Regions from separate parts of the Homo sapiens genome. Here regions 2, 3 and 4 are each linked to region 1. The links are contacts of gene promoters, found by promoter capture Hi-C in blood cells and fetal thymus (Javierre and others, 2016). All regions are on one chromosome and are shown on one strand. The core of a region is centred on a gene start or on the middle of the fragment in contact, and the rest is flanking DNA. Distances in the headings are between cores, read along the strand shown. Region 1 holds the start of PTPRM (protein tyrosine phosphatase receptor type M). Region 2 has its middle 7.4 kb from the start of LRRC30. Region 3 overlaps LOC105371973 (a long non-coding RNA gene). Region 4 has its middle 50 kb from the start of LRRC30.

The links. Contacts are between HindIII fragments. The CHiCAGO score rates a contact against its expected background, and 5 or more counts as called.
Region 2: a contact is called between a fragment that was not itself captured here and the fragment with the promoter of PTPRM in region 1, in 1 of 17 cell types (monocytes). The highest score is 6.1, in monocytes.
Region 3: a contact is called between a fragment that was not itself captured here and the fragment with the promoter of PTPRM in region 1, in 6 of 17 cell types (endothelial precursors, megakaryocytes, M2 macrophages and 3 more). The highest score is 8.6, in endothelial precursors.
Region 4: a contact is called between a fragment that was not itself captured here and the fragment with the promoter of PTPRM in region 1, in 6 of 17 cell types (endothelial precursors, M2 macrophages, M0 macrophages and 3 more). The highest score is 12.1, in endothelial precursors.

The regions. Positions count from the first base shown.
Region 1 is chr18:7,565,594-7,569,090 of GRCh38, reverse strand. PTPRM (protein tyrosine phosphatase receptor type M) reads right to left here and starts at 1,775. Exons shown (of 33, transcript NM_001105244.2): 1 at 1,200-1,775. The coding sequence starts at 1,272. RefSeq lists a silencer at 1,725-2,094. The HindIII fragment of the contact is 6,488 bases long and covers 1-3,497 here.
Region 2 is chr18:7,221,894-7,225,390 of GRCh38, reverse strand. No RefSeq gene overlaps it. Among named protein-coding and RNA genes, the nearest start is that of LRRC30, 7.4 kb to the left of the region's middle. The HindIII fragment of the contact is 5,629 bases long and covers 1-3,497 here.
Region 3 is chr18:7,261,941-7,265,437 of GRCh38, reverse strand. LOC105371973 (a long non-coding RNA gene) reads left to right here. Exons shown (of 4, transcript XR_935118.2): 2 at 1,895-2,026. Among named protein-coding and RNA genes, the nearest start is that of LRRC30, 33 kb to the right of the region's middle. The HindIII fragment of the contact is 8,400 bases long and covers 1-3,497 here.
Region 4 is chr18:7,279,720-7,283,216 of GRCh38, reverse strand. No RefSeq gene overlaps it. Among named protein-coding and RNA genes, the nearest start is that of LRRC30, 50 kb to the right of the region's middle. The HindIII fragment of the contact is 771 bases long and covers 1,440-2,210 here.

The DNA of each region.
Region 1 (3,497 bases), core at 526-3,025:
AAAAAGCCCAACTTACTCATTCAACTCACTTGTTCCCAAACGCAGAGACCTATTTTGCAAAAACCAAGTTTAAGACCAAAGAGCAGGCTTTTTTATTAAAGAAAAAGAAAGCCCACCGCCCCCACTGCATGTGGACCTTAATGAAACTAATCTAATAAACACTAGAAAGAAGGTGTGCAAATGGGCCAGCATTTGCCGTCTATCCACCTGTGTCACCCAGGTAATAAAGGTCATCCTGGTTGTAAACCCCTGTGACAGCGTGCCGGGTTCGCCCCCACGCCGGACCCCCGACTCCGATCCACAGATCCTCTCCGTGAGGGGTTCCTCTGGGCTTAGAACGCCCCCGCGCGCGCGTGCAGGCACACACGCGCACACACTCACACGCTTGCTCGCACACCGCCAGTGCCTCTCCTTCCCACCTGGGACCCCCGGGCAGCCGGGCTGGATGAACAAGTTGCAGCTGGCCGCGGCGCTCCGCTAGGGGGACGAGGGTGGGGAGGGGGAGCCCAGCGGGGCGCAGGGCCGTGGCCAGGGCCTGGGGACCTGCCCGCTTCCCTCCGCGGCCGCCAAGCCCTACCGCTGGGACCGGCGAGGAACTCCCCCCAGCCTCTCCGCAGACGCTGCACGACCGCGGGGACCTCCCGGGGTCGCCAGCCGCGCCGGGCAGGGGGCGACAGGGAGGGCAGGGCACCGGGAGATCGCCGCCGCCGGAGCGGCCGCCAGTTCCCGGCGATCGCTGCGGGCGCAGCCGAACACCAGCGGCCTGGGCCCGGCCGCTGCTCGGGGTCGGCGGGGACCGCGCAGCGCCTACGCCAGGCGGCCCGGCGGCTGCAACTGGGAACTTCAAGCAAAGTTTTCTGCTGTTCCTTTTGCAGCCGGCCAGGGACTCAAGAGTGCAAGCCGCCCAACCTTGAGCACTAGCCCAGGCCGCGGAAGGACGGCGGCCGAGCTGGCAGTCCCGGCTGGGGAGCTCGCCCTCGGGGTCCGTCCGCTCCGCCCGCCCGAGGACTGGGTGCCTGCCAGCCCCACGGCCCCTCGCCCAGCGCCCGGCTCACAGGCAGAAGCGGTGTCCGGCCCGCCGCGCCCCCCGCCCGGCCCCGACGCCAGCCTTAGGGCTCTACCACCAGGGAGCTGTCGGCGTCCCGGGCGTCCCGCGCCGGCCCGCGCGCCTCGGGGGCGGCAGAGGCGGTCCCGCTTACCTGAGAACGTCTCGCCCGCCGCAGTTAGCAAAAGTCCGGCCAAAGTCGCCAGGCAAGTCCCAAGTCCCCTCATGGTGCTGAGTGCGGGCCGGGCCGCTCCCCGGCGGCGGTGGGTGGGCGCGCGAGGGCGGAGGGGGCCGGGAGCTTTGGTTCCGAGGCAGCGAGGAGAGACGGGTAAACAGCAGAGCGCTAAGCCAAGCCCCCAAAGTGCCAACAGTTGCAGAAGTCCGAACTCCAGCGGCTCCAGGGGCGCGGGCACAGGGTCCTGGGTCCTCCTCCCCTGTCCCTGGCCCCACTCGGCGTCTGGCGCCGCTGGCAGAGGGAGCGGAGGGCGAGCCCGCGGAGCCAAAATCTTCCCTCGGTTCCGGTTGCTGAGCTCGCCGCCTCTCCCCTTCCCCTGCCCGGGACCCGGGACCCGAGCTGCCGGCCGTGGCCGTGGCGGTGGCCGTGGCCGTGGCCGCGCGCGTTCCGCCCGCCGCCTCTCCACAGGCAGCCCCAAGCCCAGCCCCGGGCGGCGGCGCGCCGATGACCGAGCCCGCGCCGGCTGCGCGCGGGGCTCTTGCTCCCCGACTGACTGGCGGTGCCCCGCAGGCCGGCTGAAGGGAGCGCTCACGTCACGGCCGCCCGGCGCCGCCGCGGCCCGCTAGAGGGCGTGAGCGCCCGTGCCCCGCCGGCCCGCGCCCGAGCGCCTCCGGGAGCTCGGCTGGGGGCGGCCCCGCGGCCACAGCCACTACCGCCGCCGAAGCGGGCGTCAGCCGCGCGGGGAGGAGCGGCCACCGGGCTCCCCCCGCCCACCTCCTCGCCCCGGCCGCGTCTTCTATTTTGGTAGCTGGCTCTGGGGAGGGTGACTGTGGAAGAGGCTGCGCCGCCGCCAGAAGTTTGTCCCGGGTCACGAGCCGCGAGTAGTTTGTGAGCGCGGCCGGGCGGGACCAGCGGCCTGCGACCCCGCGGGCGCGGCCAGGCGGCTTCGAGCCTGGCGCCGGACGGCGATGTCACCGCACAGGGCCAGCTGCACCCGGAGTCGCCGGGCCTGCGCTGCTCGGCGGCTGCGGGAAAAGCGAGCCAGGAGATCGCTGAGGCTCCGGAGGGCTGCGAGCTTCTCTACGCCGCGGGCGGAGCGAAGTTGGCGGGCGCCGGGAGATGGCGCGGGAGCCGGGAGCGCCGAGCCCCGCGATCGCCAGCCCGCTCCCGGCCGGGCCCGCCGGGTACACGCCGCTGGCCCCGAGCACTGGCGCCCGGGAAGCAGGGCGCGCTTCTGCTGTTCTGCGTCCTCATCATGCCTCGGTGTCCCGTGTGGGCCCGAAGCGAGCCGCAGGCAGTACACGGAAGGCGGTGGTCACACCAAAACCAGGGTTTGGACATAACCCGTGGTTTCTGTATCTGGTGCAAAGTGCTGAGAAACAGGGGAGAAAGAGAAGTGGGGGGTGAATCAAGTAATGTCTTGAAATATTTTAGTTTTACGATTTTGGGTCTGAGTGAATTAAAAAAACCTTACAATGCTTCAGCAAAAAATAATTTTTTTATTTTAATTGTAAATTTTTTTGTAAGTGATCCTTCTATCTTCCAGGGAATAAGCACATTGAGCCAGCACCAACCAGACAGCTGTAAGCTCCTGGCCTAGCTAACTGAACGCAATAGAAGGCTTGGGAAGAGGTTAAATTAGGAACCAAAGTAACTGAGTGACAGGGTTCTAGCAATGATTCTGGCTAGAAGGCAAACCGGTGATACAGAGGCACCCAGGAGCTCTCCTGCACTTTTTCCGCAAGAGGGGTCCTCTGCTTAGTGCTCACTGCTTTCTAGTGCTTATAAACACGTAAAAAAATAAATGGATTCCACACTCATCTTGACCCTGTTCTCCACTGTACACCAGAACCAAGAAAGATACAGCTGTCATCCTCCCAAGGCAAATTTGGGGACTAGAAGACTTGCCTTTAGTGTGGCAACCAACACTCCTCTTACTTCAGGAAGTCCACTTACTAGATACTTACCAGACCTGCTCTTTAGAAGTCTCTATATTAATCATTTGCTTGTTAATATGAGCTTACATTGTCCTGCCACTTCTCCCAACTATGTGCTTATGGAACCTTATCTTTAATTGTGAAATGAACATTGAAATCTCAGAAAGGAAGCAATGTCTTCAAGATCAGCAAGTGAGGATGGTCAAATCTGCAACCTGGGCTTTCCATTTTGATGTACTTGTGTTCTATACTGCAGTTCAAATTTGCTTTAAAAAAAATTAGTAATAGGCTTTCCAATGGAGTTTTTCTGCTAGTGGGAGGACAGAGGTGGAAGCTAGGG
Region 2 (3,497 bases), core at 370-2,869, 340 kb after region 1:
CGGAGGTTGCAGTGAGCCGAGATTGTGCCACTGCCCTCCAGCCTGGCAACAAGAGTAAGACTCCATCTCAAAATAGTAATAATAATAATAATAATACCCATCATATAAGGTTGCTGTGGGAATTAAATGACTCTGTACAGAGAACACATAGTGCATGGTTTCATACATAGCAAGAATACCTGAAGATCCCAAGGAAATGTCAATTCCACGGCCACCTCTGGGTGCTCAAGGGCTGAGCACCTTCACCAGCAGGGCAAGCCTGGTCCCTTTCCTCTCCTATAACCTTCCTTTTGATCACACTACACCTCAATCAGCTATTCCAAGGGGCAAACATGCTTCTCTAGAGTGCAACACGCTTAGAGGCAGGTTCTTAGAGAGAGATCCGAATTGAAATGCTTCCCTCTGAAAGTCAAGATCCTCTTTGGAGATCATTTGTCCTCAGTTTGTTTACTCTCACTCTGTTCATTCAGCTCACATTTGCTGTCAGGCCAATTCTATTTCAAACCCCTTGTCTCCCTCAGAGCCCTGGAATAATCCCGAGGACACAGTAGGCACTCAATCAATGTTCATTGAAATGAACAAACATTTGGGCCCTGATGGAAGTTTCAGGTGAGAAAAGAACAATGAAGAGAGCCTTGAATATCCTGCTTGTTTTTAATTGCTTCTGTGTTACTCTATTTGTATATTTATCTGCTTACAAGTCCCTCCAGAGGACTCTGCATACATCCTGTTCACGGCTGACCACAGGATCCCTGGTTTGACCTCCATCACAGCAGCTCACTGAAAAAAGTTTTGTCAGACAAGCCAAGCCTCTTTTATCTTTAAGAGAAGACCTCAGCACCTTCTCCAGGGGTTGCAGTGAGCTGAGATCGTGCCAGTGCACTCTAGCCTGGCTACACAGCAAGACTCCATCTCAAGGCAAAAAGAAAAAAGAAAAAAAGAAGACCTCAGCACCTGCACCTTCTCAGGGAATCTGCTCGGCCCTGCTACGCCCTCCTCTGTAAGTGGGGATAATTGTGCCTCCTTTGTATAGGCCTATTGTGAGGATTAAATGGAATGACACAGGTAAAGCAAGTAGCTCAGCACAAAAGGGTCCTGATGCCATGTTACCAGCCACAGTAATCCATCCTTCCCATTGTGGCCAGAATGTTCTAGAAGACTGTTCCCATCAACCCACTGCTTATGGACCATCCACTGACACACCTGTGCCCACAAGCTGTCCATGCAGACCATAGTTGCATGCATGTTTGCATCACAACCTCACGCCTCACCGTTCACCTCTAACACACCTACTTGATATCCCAGAAGTACTGAGGTAGCAGCTGGCTCCCCTACACATGCCTTGGCATTTTGTAATGCCACTCCTTTGTTCATGCTGATCCTTTGCTCCACATGGCTCACACCCTTCATGTTTCCACATAAGAACAGTGCCCCCTCCTCAAGGAAGCCTTCCCTGACCACCCACCTTCCTCTAGGGCCATCTGGGCATCCTTCCTTACTTCCCAGAGCGTCCTAGACTTACCTTTGTCACAACACTACCACCTCAGATCTCAACTGGACCAATTTTGCCCCTCATGGGATGTGTGACAATATCTGGAGATATGTTTGGTCATCAACTGTGCAGGTGGTACTACCGATGTCTAGTGAGTAGAGGCCAGTGATGCTGCAAACGTCTTACAGATCAGGACAGCCTCCACAACGAAGAATTATCCAGCCTACAATCTCAATAGTGCAGGGCTTAATAAACACTACCATATGCCAGGAGTGGTGGCTCACGCCTGTAATCCCAGCACTTTGGGAGACGAGGCGGGCAGATCACCTAAGGTCAGGAATTCGAGACAAGCCTGACCAACATGGTGAAACCCTGTCTCTTCTAAAAATACAAAATTAACTGGGCGTGGTGGTGCATGCCTATAATCCCAGCTACTCTGGAGGCTGAGGCAAGAGAAGCTCTTGAACCTGGGAGGCGGAGGTTGTAGTGAGCCAAGATCGAGCCATTGCACTCCAGCCTGGGCAACAAATGAAACTCCATCTCAAGGAAAAAAAAAAAAAATATATATATATATATATATAGAAATCATCAGCTTTTGTGCCAGTCTCCTCCATTAGAGTATAAATACATTTCTTAAGGCTGGAGCTAAATCTTATTCATCATCATTTGTTCTCCTTGAGCCTAGGATGTTGCCTCATATGTGGTACCTATTCAATGAGCCCTGGTTTCTCCCCACTGTATCCTCTTATTTATGAATCAAACCTACTCTATTTTGAGAGGCTTACTGACTCTCTATCCTACTATGTGACCCATATGACCAGAAACATAAATAAAATTGCCTTGCTTGTCAACTGGTATCAGACTTCTATTTATCCAGAATTACACTGCTGACATTATTCATTCAGGGAAAGAGAACCTACAAGCAAGGCCATTTCATCTCTTTGAAATCCGAATGTCAATAGCTCTTGCCTGTCACCGAACAAGATACAGAAATTACAGGACTGGTACAACTCTAAGAAAACACTGAGTCTACTTTTGCTGGCCAGCTGCATTTTATTAAATCATCTCAGCAAATTCAAATTTAGCTTTTTAAAAAGCTACTTCTAGAAAGACAGTCATTTTGTTATTTTGCATATTTTCCTCTCAGGAAATCCATTTACTGGGCTAACCCTAGCCTTCAGGTATCAGTTTTCCTTGCATCTTCTTGTTTGTCTTCAATGGAGCTGGGTAACCAGTGAAGGCTTTTATAGTCCTGTTCGTTCAGTCCTAATCCATCAAAGTACACTTCATGCTTTACAGCACTAAAGGAAAGGCGAAATAAAGAGATGCTTTGATTAAAAGTCGAGAGAGTAATTAAATACCAATTCAGCCTTCTGCATATTAAGTTTATATCAGAAAGCAAGGTCATGAATTTAAGAGCAATGAGATTCTATATAATATCTGCATAACAAAGTAGCAGAGCTTTATTAAAGATCAAGTCTCTTTTTAAGAAGTTTTAAATTATTGTGACATTTCAGGATAATAAATTGATAAATGGCTAAAAACAAAAAAAAGCAAGAAGAGACACTAAGTTCAGTCAAGTGAAATATCTGAGATCCAGGCCTCTCTGATAAAAAGTTTAAAATATGCATAGTGTGTATATAACTTATCTGTTTAATAAATTATAAATTTGAATCTTATTTAAAACTCCCCAAACTACTTACTACTGTTTTAATTTCAGATTTGGTCTAGACTATCTTAACAAAAATAAATTTTTCCTCTTCATTGAATTGGTGAGGAAAAGTTAAAAAGAGTTGAGCCCTAGAGTAAGAGGAATTCCAAATTCAGTTTAAAATCCTTGGTTAAGAGTTGGCCTTTGTCCACATACATCTGAGCCACTGGGGCATGTTTTCCAGCTTCTTTCTCACAGTGGATTCTGAGGGAGCCCAGTCTTGGCTACAGTCTGTCTCACTGGGAACTCCCCTGTGCATGCGGAAAAATGTTGGTAGCATACATATCTGTGCCA
Region 3 (3,497 bases), core at 482-2,981, 300 kb after region 1:
GCACATTCGTGCCTATTTCTTGAACCTTGCATATTCAAAAATATCTTTCTGTAGCCTTCACATGAAAAATAACTCAACTGGGCATATATTTTGGGCTTGCAACTATTTTCCTTCAAAACAGCAAATGTTCCTTCATCAGATTCTGGTATTTAATGATTCCCCGAGGCCGTCCTAATTTCTGAACTTCTGTAGGTAACCTATTTTTGCTGCCTGAATGCTTGTTGGGTTTTGAGTTTTCTTTTCTTTTTTTTTTTTGAGACGGAGTCTCTCTCTGTCCCCCAGGCTGGAGTGCAGTGGCGCGATCTCCGCTCACTGCAAGTTCCGCCTCTTGGGTTCAAGCCATTCTCCTGCCTCAGCCTCCCGAGTAGCTGGGACTACAGGCGCCCACCACTACGCCGTGCTAATTTTTTGTATTTTTAGTAGATACGGGGTTTCACCATGTTAGCCAGGATGGTCTCGATCTCCTGACCTCGTGATCCGCCTGCCTTGGCCTCCCAAAGGGCTGGGATTACAGGCGTGAGCCACCGCGCCCGGCCTGGGTCTTGTTTTCTTGATCCTCAGAATTCAAAAATATAACCACTTCTCGTGTCATTGATGTCTCATCCTGGTAACCTCCTTCTAATTGCACTCAGGTCGTTTTTTCAGCCTAGGCTCAGGAAAGGCCCAACCACCCCCATATCCACCTCACCCTCACCCTCCCACCATGATGTCTTTGGTGACCATTCCATCCATCTGTTCTACTTGACTTTCTTCCTGGGGAACAGCCCTAACTTCTTTCTGTCTCTGTTCCTCCTTTTATGCGTGTTCACTGTTCACCAGATGCCATATGTCATGCTGAATTCCCATATATATTTGTTGCTGTCCCAACTGTGGTACTCTGAGGAGATATTGTTATCCCTGCACTGCAGATGGAAGCCTTGCCCAGGTCCGCACATGTTGTAAGTGCTGGGGTTGAGCTTCAAGTCTGCGTGAGACACTGAATCTCATGCCCTTTCACCCCAATGCTGTATTTTCTTTTTTTCTGTCCATCCCACCATTTCCACGTGATTTCCTTTCCTCTCCATTCTCAGAGAGAGTCTCAGGTTTGTCTCCCTCACTAAGGATCAGATTTTCCAAGGTGTCATTTCTGATTTACCATCCCCACATGGATTAATTCAGCATTGAATTTCTCGTTTCCTTTAATACTTTCTTATTTTACTTATCTCGATTTTCTTTATCTGGGCTGCTTCCATATCAGTCTATTCTCCCTTTGACATTTTGTTCCATTTCAAAAAGGCAATTTGATTTTTTATCTAAGGATGATCATTGTTTCCTAAAATGTGTTTTAGGTTTTTTTTTTTTTTTTTTTTAGAAAAACATTGTTTCCAGTGAAATTTTAGCACGAGGCTGACTTTATCAGGACCATATGATTTTTTCAAAGACTACTCCTTTTTCTTGTTTCCTTGTCCAAGAAGGCAGAGCTCTACCCAGCACAAGAGAACAAGCACACTGTGTGTCCCCACCCCCACCCTTCCCAAGTGGCTGTCCCAGGAAGAGCTGGGGGACACACACAACTTTTCTGTCACTAGGAAGCCTACTGCTGGAATGTCTTTGCTAATCTATGAAGGGAGCTTTTCCTGTCTTTGCTGTCTGACCTTCTGACCCTTTGTAAAATTTGAGGATCTGAGAAATAACAACCTTGCAGCTGCCTAGACGCCAAGGCTCTTCCGGACTCTGTCCCCATTCATGGTGCTTTATTTGGGCCACTACACTACCCAGAACGAGCCTCCTCCAGAAGCTCCAGAATTATCTAGCTCAATCTAACAGCAGAAGTAGCTATCTGGGGAGGACGAATCTGACTGTGTCAAAAAGTAGCACCTAGAGAGTCGAGGCATGACATGTTCTGGTTTTACAGTTGATGAGGCTCTGACCCGGTGTGGAGCATGGAGAGGGATGGAAGCCAGTTGACCCATTCCTGAGGCCAGACCTGCATTGTCCACTGAGTGACATTAGCTCTACAGCTTGTGGAAGGTCTTCCCAAACTCTGGTAAGAGATTGGCTGTCAGTCCTAGTTTTAAGAGTTCCAAATATATTCTTTTCTTATAAATGGGCATTGAGGGAGACTGAATCAGGAGCTGCTAGCCAGGTGACCTTTTAAATTAGAAATCTTAGGCCAGGCGCAGTGGCTCATGTTTGTAATCACAGCACTTTGGAGGCCAAGGAGGGCGGATCACTGGAGGTCAGGAGTTCGAGACCAGCCTGGCCAAAATGGTGAAACCCTATCTCTACTAAAACTATAAAAAAAAATAGCAGGGCATGGTGGCACATGCCTGTAGTCCCAGCTACTTGGGAGGCTGAGACAGGAGAATCTCTTGAACCCAGAGGCAGAGGTTGCAGCAAGCCAAGATTACACCACTGCACTCTAGCCTGGGCAACAGAGCTAGACTCCATCTCAAAAAAAAAAAAAAAAGGCTGGGTGCCATGGCTCATGCCTGTAGTCCCAGCACTTTGGGAGGCTGAGGTGGGCAGATCATGAGGTCAGGAGTTTGAGACCAGCCTGGCCAACATGGTGAAACCCCGTCTCTACTAAAGATATAAAAAATTAGCCAGGCATGGTGGCACATGCCTGTATTCCCAGCTACTCGGGCGGCTGAGGCAGGAGAATCACTTGAATCCGGGAGGCGGAGGTTGCAGTGAGCCGAGATTGCAACATTGCACTCCAGCCTGGGTGACAGGGCAAGACTCCATTTCAAAAACAAAACAAAACAAAATTAGAAACCTTAGGCCAGGTGCGGTTGCTCATGCCTGTAATCCCAGCACTTTGGTAGGCAGAGGTGGGAGGATTGCTTGACCCCAGAAGTTCGAGGCCAGCTTGGGCAATCTGGTGAGACCCCGTCTCTACAAAAAACTTAAAAATTACCTGGGTGTGGTGGCACACACCTTTAGTCCAAGCTACTTGGGAGGCTGAGGCAGGAGGATTGCTTGAGCCCAGGAGTTAGAAGTTACAGTGAGCTATGATCATGCCACCACGTTCCATCCTGAGTGACAGAGTGAGACTCTTGTCTCTAAATTTAAAAAATAATAATAATAACAAAATAAAATAAAAAATAAATTAGAAACCCTCTGACATTTTCCTTCCTCCAACATAAAATATCACTGAATCACTGGATAACTTCAAGATAACATTGAAAGTTTTAACTATCTAATCAATAAATGGATAAAAGGGAATGATAATGATGTCCTCAATGTGCCTACTGCACTGTATGACTATTCAGTCTTAGCCTATCCATAGCTGGGACACCCACTTTGTAAAGCAAATCCAGGGACAACCTAATGTTGTGCTTCTCTTGTTCCTGGCCCTTCTCAAGATTCCAGGATGACCCATTCAAAACTCAGAAACCTCTGCTTAACAAGAAGACCCTCATCCTGGCACTACAGCACTAAAATCAAGCACTGTTCCAGAGACCACACCAAGCTCCCCTCTGAGGACCATGTTAAGTCTAGCGGGAACAGGGACC
Region 4 (3,497 bases), core at 576-3,075, 290 kb after region 1:
TTTTCCCATATTTGCATGTGTCTATCTTCTCTGCCATGTTGTGACACAGCATAAAAGTTCTCGCAAAAAGCCAGGGCTGTACCCTTGAATTTTTGAGCCTGCAGAACCAAGAGCTAAATAAACCTCTTTCTGTTATAAATTACCCAGTCTCAGGTATTCTTTTATAGCAATGCAAAATGGACTAAGACAGGGAGAGTGGAAGAGAGGAACAGATGGCATGAAATACTCTGGGGAATTGGATGGGTTATTTGGGACTAAGTCTTCAAAATAGGAGTTTTGATGTGGACAACTTTGGCCTCAGTAAAAGCATAGATGTGTTGCAAAGAGGAAGGATGGGGAAATTGGAGGTTTTCAAGCTGGCCTTAAGCAAGAAAAAGGAGAGAAAACACATCTCCCTCTTGCTTCTTTCTCTAGCACAGGTGTGGCAAACGAGATTGCTGCATTGGCTGTCCAGCATTTATCCTCTCTTGCTTTTTCTTTTTCATTCAGGCATTGACCATTTCCTATACAGTCCAGGAGCTTCAGGGAGAGTGTATACCTTCCCCATTTCCTGATTGGCTTAAGTCAATGAGCACATCCCATCCTAGAGAAAGTGTTTAAAAATGGACATATGACCCAATGTGGGGACAATGAGATTGGTATGTCTGAGAAAGAATCTCCTCTCTGCTTCTGAGAAACCCAGTGGAAGGAAAATTAGCTCTGGACAGTATAGGGTAAGGCTGTGATGTCCCATCCTATTTTAGGTGACATGAAATTTTGCAGGTTGATCTGGAAGCCTAACCAACGTGTATATCTATTTTTTTTTTTTTGAGTCTTGCTCTGTCACACAGGCTGGAGTGCAGTGGCGCAGTGGCACGATCTTGACTCAATGCAACCTCCGCCTCCTGGGTTCAAGCGATTCCCCTGCCTCAGCTTCCTGAGTAGCTGGGATTACAGGCACCTGTCACCATACCTGGCTAATTTTTTGTATTTTTAGTAGAGACTGAGTTTCACCGTAGTAGCCAGGATGGTCTTGATCTCCTGACTTCATGATCCGCCCGCCCTCGGCCTCCCAAAGTGCTGGGATTACAGGCGTGAGCCACCGTGCCCAGCCATGTATATCATTTTTACAGTAGAACATTTTCCTCTTGGGAAAAACAGTTGACTTCAAATAAACTTTTGGAAACCAACCTGTTCATCAATTGGAGAGTAACAGTGGTAATTTTTGAGTAATAAGAGTCATTGATATGTACCAAAGAAGTGAAGAATATTTTTTACAATATTTCAAAAATTTAAAATGACATTGTGTCCTGAAGTGATATATTAGAATTGAAGGGAATATGACACTCTGATTTAAAAATGCAAGAAACTGAAGTAATTTATGAAGTGCTGGCAGCTAGCTTCACATCCCCTCTCACTGCGTGGGCTTAAAATTACTTTGGAGGCTTTGGTGAGAAGCTTTAGTGCATTGTGTTATGAAAGTACCAGGTTCAGGCTCCAACAGCAGGAAGCAAGCGCTGGCCCAGGTCTTGGGAAGAGATCTGCACAGCCTGGTCTTGACATATATAGAGATTAGGTCTTTTTCAGTCCAATCTTGTCCAAGGAAGGGGCCCTAGAACCTCTGAAGGTTGAGATCCATTTGGATCCAGAATGATCTGAAGGGTCTGCTTTAGCTGTGGGTAATCTTCACACTCACATGATAAAGCAATAAAATAATAATAATAGCCAATGGTTTTAGGGTTCTTTACAGTTTGTAAAGTGCTTTTACATGCATTATCTCATTTGTGCTCAGGATAAGTAGGTCCCTGTTCCAGAGAGCAGCAAGCAGGTCATGGAAGCTCACATGTAGTACAAAGGGTCTCACAGCAGAAAAGGGATCTAACGGGCTTTCCTGACTCACAAACTTAAAACTCAATCTTATGAATGAATCCAGATGCCTCCACCATATCTTGCCTTGTGCTTTACCAAAAAAATTGGGACCACCATGTTGAGTTCCTTTATTTTCCATCTTCTACATTTTGATGTATCCTCACAATCATCTGCACTCTTTCCTTTTTCTCTCATCTTAACTGAATGGAAAGATCACCCCCTACTCCCACCTAAAGCTAATAAGTTTGCCCGTGTTAATCCCTCCTGTATCCTTCCTTAGGTCATCTTTTTGTCTTGTCTCCTGCCTCCTTCCTCTTTGTCTACAATGTGTTGACCTCTGCCCTATACTAACAAACAAAGCTTTTATCTGTGGCCACTAGCCTTACCCTTTTGCTTCCTTCCTTTTCTTTCCTTGCTGTTTAGAAAAAAGCAGTCTCTACCTGCAGCCTCACCAAGAATCCTTCTCCCTTCCCCATATATCCAGTCTCTCCCCAAGAGTTGTCAGCCCACTTTTGTTCCTTTAGATTGATTTCTTCTTCATGCCCCAGAAAACCATCCTAATACAAGCCTTTATTACCTCTGTTATGGGCTAAATTGTGTCTCCCCCAAATTCATATGTTGAAATCCTAACCCCAGTATTTCAGAATGTGACTATATTTGGAGACAGGTCTTTAAAGAGATAATTAAGGTAAAATGAGGTCATACAGGCCAGCCCCCAACAGGTATAACTGATGTCCTTATAAAAAGAGGAGATTAGGACACAGACATGCACAGAGAGAAGACCATGTGAGGACACAGTAAGAAGGCGGCCGTCTACAAGCCAAGGAGAGAGGCCTCAGAAGACACCAATCCTGCCAACGCCTTGACCTCAGACTTCCAGCCTCTAAAACTGTGCAATAGTAAATTTCTGTCATTTAAGCCACTCAGTCTGTGGTACTTTGTTAGGGCAGCCCTAGCCCTCTAGTACACCTAATTAGCTGACTAGCCATTTGTTATGCTCCCAGTTCCTTCCCTTCCAATGACAATGTCCTTCTGCATGACCAAGGACAAGAATAATTTTCCCAAGTTGCCATGTTAACCATGTGATTCCCCTTCTCAAAAAGTTCCAATGGCACCCTTCTTACCTGCATAAGTTTGAAGTGCTTCATCCTGACATTTAAGGTGCCCACAATTTTGCTACCATTGTCCTTTCCAGAATCAGATTCTTTAACATCCTACCTGAACTTTCTGCTTCTTTATTTTATTTTATCTATTTTTTTATTTTTTGAGACGGAGTCTCACTCTGTCACCCAGGCTGGAGTGCAGTGGTGTGATCTCAGCTCACTGCAAGCTCCGCCTCCTGGGTTTACGCCATTCTCCTGCCTCAGCCTCCCGAGTAGCTGTGACTACAGGCACCCACCACCACACCCGGCTAATTTTTTGTATTTTTAGTAGAGACGGGGTTTCACTGTATTAGCCAGGATGGTCTCGATCTCCTGACCTCGTGATCCGCCCGCCTCGGCCTCCCAAAGTGCTGGGATTACAGGCGTGAGCCGCCGCGCCCGGCAACTTTCTGCTTCTTTCATATTCACCTCTGCTTCTTCTGTGCACTTCCCGTCCCCGCCACCCCTCCGCATCCCCATTGATGGAATTCTGTCCACATTTCAAGG